2 separate regions of the Homo sapiens genome follow, and region 1 is linked to region 2. The links are contacts of gene promoters, found by promoter capture Hi-C in human tissues and cell types (Jung and others, 2019). All regions are on one chromosome and are shown on one strand. The core of a region is centred on a gene start or on the middle of the fragment in contact, and the rest is flanking DNA. Distances in the headings are between cores, read along the strand shown. Region 1 holds the start of LINC01778 (long intergenic non-protein coding RNA 1778). Region 2 holds the start of MATN1 (matrilin 1).

Region 1 (4,293 bases), core at 71-2,570, 100 kb after region 2:
CCCCTCACCAGAGAAACCTGCTCGTAAATGTCCCAGTTCTTTCTTTTTCCTTTATTTATTTATTTATTTATTTTTTTTTTTTGGGACGGAGTCTCGCCCTGTCGCGCAGGCTGGAGTGCGGTGGCGCGATCTCGGCTCACTGCAAGCTCCACCTCCCGGGTTCACGCCATTCCCCTGCCTCAGCCTCCCGAGTAGCTGGGACTACAGGCGCCTGCCACCACCCCAGCTAATTTTTTGTATTTTTAGTAGAGACGGGGTTTCACCGTGTTAGCCAGGACGGTCTCGATCTCCTGACCTCGTGATCCACCTGCCTCGGCCTCCCAGAGTGCTGGGATTACAGGTGTGAGCCACTGCGCCTGGCCATGTCCCAGTTCTTAAGCAGCTCATGTCTACTTACAGCGTCAGCCACCACCTTTATGCAGGCCACCCCAGCCCAGACCTCTCCCACCCAGCCCCACCCAGAGGTCTCACAAGCATCTCAGATGCTGAGGCTCCAACTCTGAACTAACCACCTTTCCCTTGAAATCTACCCCACCCGTATTCCCTCTCCCCCAACCTTTAGTTGCTCAAGCCAGAAACATAGGTGTTACCCCAAGCAGATTCCTCTCCATCACCCCCACAACCTCCAGTAAACCAGTAGGGCCCATCACTTCTACCTGTCCTTTACCTTTCTTGAACCCATCCCTTTTCCTCTCCCTTCCACCACCACATGAAGACGACCTCATCATTTCAGCCCTCATCCATCAGAACCTCTCCCCTTCAGTTCACGCTTTTCTTCGACAAGTGTGTGAACACTCACTGTGGGCCTGGCACTCTACCCTGGGCTGGGGTGCAGCATTGAGCAAGACAGCCAAGATTCTGTCACCGGCATGACTGCACGAAAACCACTTTGACCACACTTCTCCCTTGCTCTGATCCCTGGGTGGCTGCAAACTGCCCCTGAGTTCAAGTGCAAACTCCCTCATGCAGGTATTCACATTCCTGGACCTTCCAACCACCCCTGATCCTTCCAGATGGGTCTGTCATTGTGCCCTGCCCAGGCTGATCCAAACAAGCTTTTGGCCATCCTCCCAAACACCAGCTCAAAGACCCCCTCCTCCACAAAGCTTCCCTGCCTGAGTCAAGCACCCCACCTGGCAGGGTGAGTTTTGCCTTCTTCTGGAATCCCATTGAAACCCAGGATTTGTGTGCCTGCCTCCCAGACTGGGCTGTGATTCCAGGCGCTCAGGGGACTGAGCCATCGCCAAGCCCAGAACCTGGCACTGATGGGCATCAATGTGTTGTGTTGATGGATGGACAGACAGAGGGGTGGGTAGAGCAAAGTCCAACTGCCCTTTTCATTCACTCGGCCCAGTGCCTATGCCTTTGTAGTTTTCTGGAAGTCCCTCCAGCTGTCTAACCTCCCCTGCTGGCATTATGGAAGCTCATGCCCAATTGTTCTCTAAATCTGTCCCCTTCCCTTCCCCAAAGCCCAGACCGTCCTGCCTTTCCCTTGACTGGGCAACAAGTCAACAAGAACAAAGGTCTGGTGAGGCCAACCAGGGAAAGGCCAGCCCGGGCCTCTCGGGATCTCAAGCCCTCGGCCTGTGTGTGTGCCAGAGCTTCCCACAGACTCGGGAAGAAGGTGCCGGAGGCTTGCCGGGCGGCCTTGCGGTTTGAAGCAGTGAGTCACCTTCTGGCTGCAAGTCAAGGAACTCTCACTGCGCCCTTGTTTGGACAAGACGAGGAGGCGCACTCAGAGTCAGAGACCCCGGGGCAGAGACAGGGGCAAGAAGAAGGGGCCACCGAGACCCCAAGAGAGTCAGGGAGACAGACGCACCAAACGACCGACACAACCAGGGACAGGTACGGCACGCAGAGAGAGAGGAGAAGGACAGAGGTAGCCAGCCCAGAACTGAGAGGGAGAGCGGGGAGCGCAGGGAGAGGAATCGCGCCGCCGGTGTAGACAGCTGGGCTCCCTGCGCATGCTCTGTCCTCCCCCTCGCGGCTCCCACCGCAGGCCCGGACCCAGAAGTGGACAAAAATGGAGCCAATGGGCTTCCAGACCGGGACATTACCTCACCAGCACCGGCTGCCATTGGCCGGCGCCCCCGCCGGGGCGGGCTGTTGCTATGACAGCCCAGGCCGGCGTTGCAGAGGGATGTTCGGAGGAAGCTCCGGGCGGGAGAGCCGCGTCCACTCCTCTTTCCAGACTATGATGGGGCCCAGGGACCCCTCCCCTCCGACTGAGCCCCATAGACCCCCTACTCAGGCCAGAAGGGGAAAGCTGAGCTCCTGCTGGCCCAGGCATCAGAATTCCTGTAAAGACGCCCATTCGGCCCTCTCCCTCAACCTGGCCCACAGTCCCTTGCCAAGACCACCCCGCCCCCACAACCTGGAACCACACACTCATCCATACACCCTGCAAACAGCAATGAGCACCCTCCAGCATCCAGGTGCACCTGGGCTCTGCAGACGCAAAGATGAGTCCACCTCCACCCCTGCCCTCACAAAGCCCCCCACCCCCACAGTCTGATCAAGCAAGCAGTCCAGGAGAAAATGGCAAGGCAGTGTGTTAAGGATTAAAATAGAGGGAGCACGGAGGTTGTGGGAACACAGAGGAGGGGTCCCTATCCAACCTACCGAATCAGGAGGACTGCTGGGAGAAAGGGATACAGAGCCAGGACCTGAAAGAGCCAGATGAGGAACGGTGGGGAAGGGATTCTCAGCAGAGGGGACAGCCTGCGCAAAGACTGGAGGCAGTAAAAAGCAAGGAACACTCGAGGCACTATGGCAGGAAATTAGATGGTGGGGTTCGGGGTGTTGGAGAGGAGGAGGAGTTTAAAGTAAAGCTGAAAGGGGAAGCAGGAACAAGATCCCAAAGGGCTTGAATGTCGTGCTAAGGGATCTTGGACCACATTCTCAGGCAGTTGGGGGATGGAAGGGGAGAGGGCTATGATTAGGTTTGCATTTTAGGAAGATCTCCACTCTTGCAGCTGTGTGGAGGATGGGCTGGAGGGGACTAGGAGACCAGTCATTGCAGGGACTGGGGAAAGTCAGGGCAGGGGGGACTAAGGCTACCCGAGCTGGAGTAGAGATGGAGAGACCCAAACTCAGGAGGAGGTGTAAAGGACGTGGAGCCATAGTTCAGGTGACTGAGGAGATGGCACCAACTCACCTGGGAGGCTCTGAGGGCTTCTCTGGCAGCCAGATAGGATCACCGCTCTCCTTCCATATGATATTTGTGTCAGCTTGTGTATGCAACTTTCGTTTCAAGAATCATGCTGCATTGAAAAGATGTCTATCTCTTTTCACATCTCCCCACCCTCTACACACACACACACACACACACACACACACACACACACAGAGGCTGTGATTCACCTCCGTTCCCAGCACTCAACACAGAGCTTCATCCCAAGTACGCTTCCACAAATCCAAACCCCCATCAGCCCCCTCCCCATTACCCTTACCCCAGCCTCCACCCACCCCTCCCAGCCTCTGCACTTCCTTTCCAACCTCCATGCACCTGCTTCCCATCTCTTTAGTCATGTCGTAGCCACCACCTAGGAGCTGGGACTGCCCCCCTGCTCACCATGTCTGCCCTTCCTATCACCCCTCAGCAGGGAGGAAAAGTTGCCTATCTGTTGGGTCAGATTTCTGAAGACTGATGAGGCCCATTTTCTGGTAAGCGGGGTCATTACAGTGCAATCATTGGGTTGTTATGAGAATTAAATAAGGTTTGTTGCCTGGCACATGTAACTATCCAATCAATCAGCTATAGTAATGGCATTATTATGGGTGTTAGAGGAGGATGGAGAGGGCTGGTGAGGACTCCAGTGTGGCATAGCCCTGCTTTGGGATACCGGTGTTTGCTTCACTCATTACAGAGTGGTGTCTTGACTTCTCATTTGTCACACGTACTTGTTATTCACTCTCTCGAGGAAAAACATGAAACAAAGTAGATGGTGGGACAAGAGTCCTGGGTTTTTATTTTTATTATTATTATTATTATTTTTGAGACAGAGTCTCACTCTTGTCACCCAGGCTGGAGTGAAATGACATGATCTCAGCTCACTGAAACTTCTGCCTCCCAGGTTCAAGCAATTCTCCTGCCTCAGCCTCGCGAGTAGCTGGGATTACAGGTAGGTGCCACCAAGCCCGGCTAATTTTTGTATTTTTAGTAGAGATGGGGTTTTGCCATGTTGGCCAGGCTGGTCTCAAACTCCTGACCTCAAGTGAACCACCTGCCTCGGCCTCCCAGAGTGCTGGGATTACAGGCATCAGCCACCATGCCCAGCTGAGTCCTGGATT
Region 2 (3,967 bases), core at 940-3,439:
TGCACGTACCTTGCTGATGTCAGGGGACCTGGAACGACCACCCTCTGCATCGCCGAAGGCTTTGGTGATAGCGAACTGGATGGCCAGGCCGGTCATGGTGCCTGTGGACAGCGGCTGGATACGGCGCACAGCCTGCAGCAGTGCGGCCTTGGAGACATGAGCCCGCAGCGAGAACTCCTGCTTCACGGTGCTGGCATAGTTGACCATGCCCACCCGGGTGGCATTGGGCCCCACGTCCAGCGACTCGATGACCTGGGACAGGAATACCTTCACTTTCTCAAATTCAACAGGCCGAACGCTGCGAGAGCTGTCGACAACAAACACCAGGTCTGTGGGCCGCGTCCGGCAGAGATGGCCTGGGAGTGGGGCAGGAGGGGTAAGGCAGAGAGCAGAGACACAGGTCAGGGACTGGGCCTGAACACACAGAGTGCGGCTTCTTAGATCCAGGTGCGAGGCCTCGGGCCCAGTAGGCTGCAAACTTCAGCTGGGCAGCTGAGCCCTTTTATCAACATGCAGACACCAGCAAGCAACTTGCCAAAGGCCCCCTGCTCAGCCCATGGGGAACACAGAGGGCCAAGCCTGGCCTTGGGCCATTTGCTTCACTTCTCTGAGCCTCAGTTTCCTCATCTGAGCAGTGAGCTAGCAATCCCTCCTTACAGGATGTTTTGAGGAGCCAGCAGGGGGCCAGGCAAGCAATGAGTATTCCAGGGGTGGCAAAGGACCCTGCGGCCTTGAAAACACATTTAGGTTTCAGCCCAGACTTGCTGCCAGAAACAAGGGCAGCTATTTCTTCTAGCTGGGCAGGAGGGCACCAAGGATGGGCCCTCCAGGCATGGGCACAGGCTTGAGAGCCAAAGCAGTGCCCGTCAACATGGCCTCTTTCATCTGAGCATCAAAGCAAATCACCAAAGTGGAACCAGTTTCCCTCAGCCTGGCAGCGCCTGCTGGCGGGTTGCCAAAGACAGGGAAAAGGAGCAGGAATTCCTGGTGGCCACCTCGGCAGCCTGATCAGGTGCACACCAAGACACACCCCCGAGGAGCAATGTCCTCCAGAGACCCAAGAAGGCAGCACCCTGTGCTGGGAAGTATGCAGGGTCAGAGTGAGTTCAGGCCTGGGTTCAAATCCTGGCTCAGCCACTCTGTGGGGCCCTGGGCAGATCATTGCACCTTTCTGAGCCTCCGTGATCTCACATGTCCAGTGGAGAGAATAAGGCTACTGTCACTGGCCTGGGCCTGCAGTCAGGAAGGTCTCACTACAAAGGCCCTTCCCTCCCCATCCCATGCGGAGTCTGAACTGAGCAGAGCCAATCCCAAAGAGGAAAGGGGAAACGTGCAGGGCCGTCCCAACCCCCAAGTCACAGTAACTCACAGTGCCCTAGACTGGGGCTCTGGACATCAGAGTTCCTCAGGAGACCTTAGAAATCACCATGCAGCAGGCTCCCTGCTGTCTACTCGCTAAGGCTACAAATGGGTAAACTGAGACCCAAAGAGGGAAAGGGAATTGGCCACACCGTACAGCAGTAGATCAATAACCTAGAGGCTCTGGCGCTATCTCACTGTGTGGTCTTAGGCCCTCACTGACCTCAGTTTCCCCATCTGTACAGGAAGAATGGGCATTCCAGGACTCAGTGCCCAAACCTGAAACTCTGGGGGGTGTTATTGCCCCCAGGGAGCCCAAGGCTGGAAGGACCTGCAAAGGGGGCATGAGCTCTTGGCATCCCAGGTCTGCTGTCATCAAAGAGCCATGGGCTCAGCCCTGGGCTTGGTGCAGCTCCAGACGTCAGCCAGCTCTCTGAGTAGCTTCTGCTCCCCAGAGACCTGGAAGACCAAGGTCCCTGCCTCATGCATGGTCCCTGAGGGCTGAGGAGCACCCCTGCCCTGACCCTTATAAGCACCATGGTCCCTGTCTGCTCCTGCACCAGCCCACTGCCCACCACTGCCGCCCTGCTCCCTTCCCCATCCTGGATCCCGTGTGCTCCCTGCCATATCGGTACCCAGCCCCCAGTGCTGAGGGTCAGGGCCCACTAGCTCAGTAGCCCCCATCTCACGCAAGCCCCCTCACCTCTGGACTGGGGGGCGAGGCCAGGGCTGCACAGGGCCTGGAGCAGCAGCAGCAGGCTGCAGAGCATGAGGCTAGTGCCAGAGAGGACCCTCATAGTTCTGGCAGCACGGGCAGCAGCCGGCACGGTTGTGGGACCAGTGGGGTCCAGGTCTTATCAACCCCACTGCCCGCCCAGCCTTTGGGTCAGGTGGCCCCCAACTGACGACTGACGTGGGGGCAGCCCGCCCTGGCCCCCAGCCCCCCCAAAGGGCGGGGCTTGGGCTGAATGGAGGTGTGTGTGCCCTGAGAGGGCGGGAGAGCCTGGCCCAGGCTTCAGAGGCCCCTCTGACCACAAGGGCTCCTTTGCTTGCAGAAGCAACTAGAGCGGCAGCTGGAATTTGGGAAATCTCAGGTGGGTGGGGGGTGGCTCTTCCAGGGGCTGGAGCCCGCGCTGCCTTGAAGCTCCACCCCAAGCCTAGGCATACCTGAGTCCAATGGCCCGGCCCAGCCCTGTCCTGCACCTTCATCCCACACCCAAATCCTTCCCCCACTCACAACCCCAAGTTTCTCATTAAATTCACTTCCCCTTCCCCAGCCTCACTGTGCCCTGCTCTCCGCACACGCCCTGCTCTCCAGCTACCCCTGGATTCTCCTCGAAGGCCTCCAGGCCATCACACATGCAGGGCCATCTGCCCAGAATCCTTTCCTCTCACTAACTCTCTGCCTTGTAGAATCTTTCAAGGTCATAATTAGGGCTAACATGTACCTTCACTGTTAGTATGGGCAGGGCAGTGGAGACCATGGTTAAGAGCACAGACTTGGGAGCCAGGTTACCTGGGTTTGCTATACCAGCAAACCACCTGTGTGACCATGGGCAAGTGACTTCACCTCTCATGTCTCAGATTGCTCATCTGGAAACTAGGGATGGTAATAGCGCCTCCTAGGGTTGATTCAAGGAGCAAAGGAGTTAGATGAGGTTTCTCAGTTAATCCTCTTGACAACTTTTTAAAGCAGCTACTGTTAAAGAACAGAGAGGTAAAATAACTTGTCTGAAGTTACACAGCTAAGAAGTGTTATTGCCAGGATAGAGCCCCAGGCCCGGCTCTCAGCCATGCTGCTGTCTCAGTGTAGCTTGATGTAGGTGGCTTCTCCCTGCCCATCTCTTCCCCCTGTGGGTCCCTGCTTGGCCCACCTCACCTGTCAGCCAGTGGATTCAACTCTGCATCAGGCCCAGCACAGAGAAGGCAAAGATAAAGCCTTCTAAACAAAGTAACATCAGCAGGAACGATCCCCTTCTTTGCATTTGGGTCAAGTAGTTCATGAGATAGAGCAGAAAGAGCATGGGCTTGGCTACCTGAGAGATCCAGGTTCAAAGCCACTTCTGCTCCTAACTGGCTGTGTGACCTGGAGCTGGTGACTTAACCTCTCTGAGCCTCAGCTTGCCATGGTGCAGTGGGAATGGTCGTTCTTGATCTGCCTGCCCCATGTGAGGGGCAAGAGGGGGACAGAAGTGGAAATGGAGTTAAAGGATTGTCATTGCTCCAGGAGGCAGAATCCTAAGACTTGGGACCTATGCACTTCACTCTGTGTAAATTATACCTCAATAAAAGGAAATGTACAGACAAAAAGCGACTGCTGGGTGCAGCAGACCCAACTCACCGCTACCACACTCTTTAGCAATAATTATAACAATCCCTTCCACCCTTGACATGGCAGTTACTCATTCTATCACTCTATCTCATTTGCTCACCCAACAAACCTGTGAAGTCAGCAGATTTGAGTCTCTTGGCCCATTTGTCAGATGGAGAAACTGAGGCCCAGAGAGGTTCACTGACTTACCCGAAGCCACCAGCCAGTTTAGGGGCAGAGCCAAGCCTAAAGCTCAGGCCTCACTCCCCTTTGCACCAGTGTTAGAGAAGGAGGAGG

What was found. The method cuts DNA at HindIII sites, captures the fragments that hold promoters and counts their contacts. A contact is called where the count stands out against the background at its distance.
Region 1: a contact is called between a fragment that was not itself captured here and the fragment with the promoter of MATN1 in region 2, in 4 of the 25 tissues and cell types used here (dorsolateral prefrontal cortex, heart right ventricle, spleen and 1 more).

The regions. Positions count from the first base shown.
Region 1 is chr1:30,822,529-30,826,821 of GRCh38, forward strand. LINC01778 (long intergenic non-protein coding RNA 1778) reads left to right here and starts at 2,124. Exons shown (of 3, transcript NR_146732.1): 1 at 2,124-2,300; 2 at 3,603-3,666. RefSeq lists an enhancer at 1,349-1,851. The HindIII fragment of the contact is 5,771 bases long and covers 1-4,206 here.
Region 2 is chr1:30,721,396-30,725,362 of GRCh38, forward strand. It overlaps MATN1 (matrilin 1), which reads right to left and starts at 2,190. Exons shown (of 8, transcript NM_002379.3): 1 at 2,063-2,190; 2 at 10-356. The coding sequence starts at 2,156. MATN1-AS1 (MATN1 antisense RNA 1) reads left to right here. Exons shown (of 4, transcript NR_034182.1): 2 at 1-327. The HindIII fragment of the contact is 16,103 bases long and covers 1-3,967 here.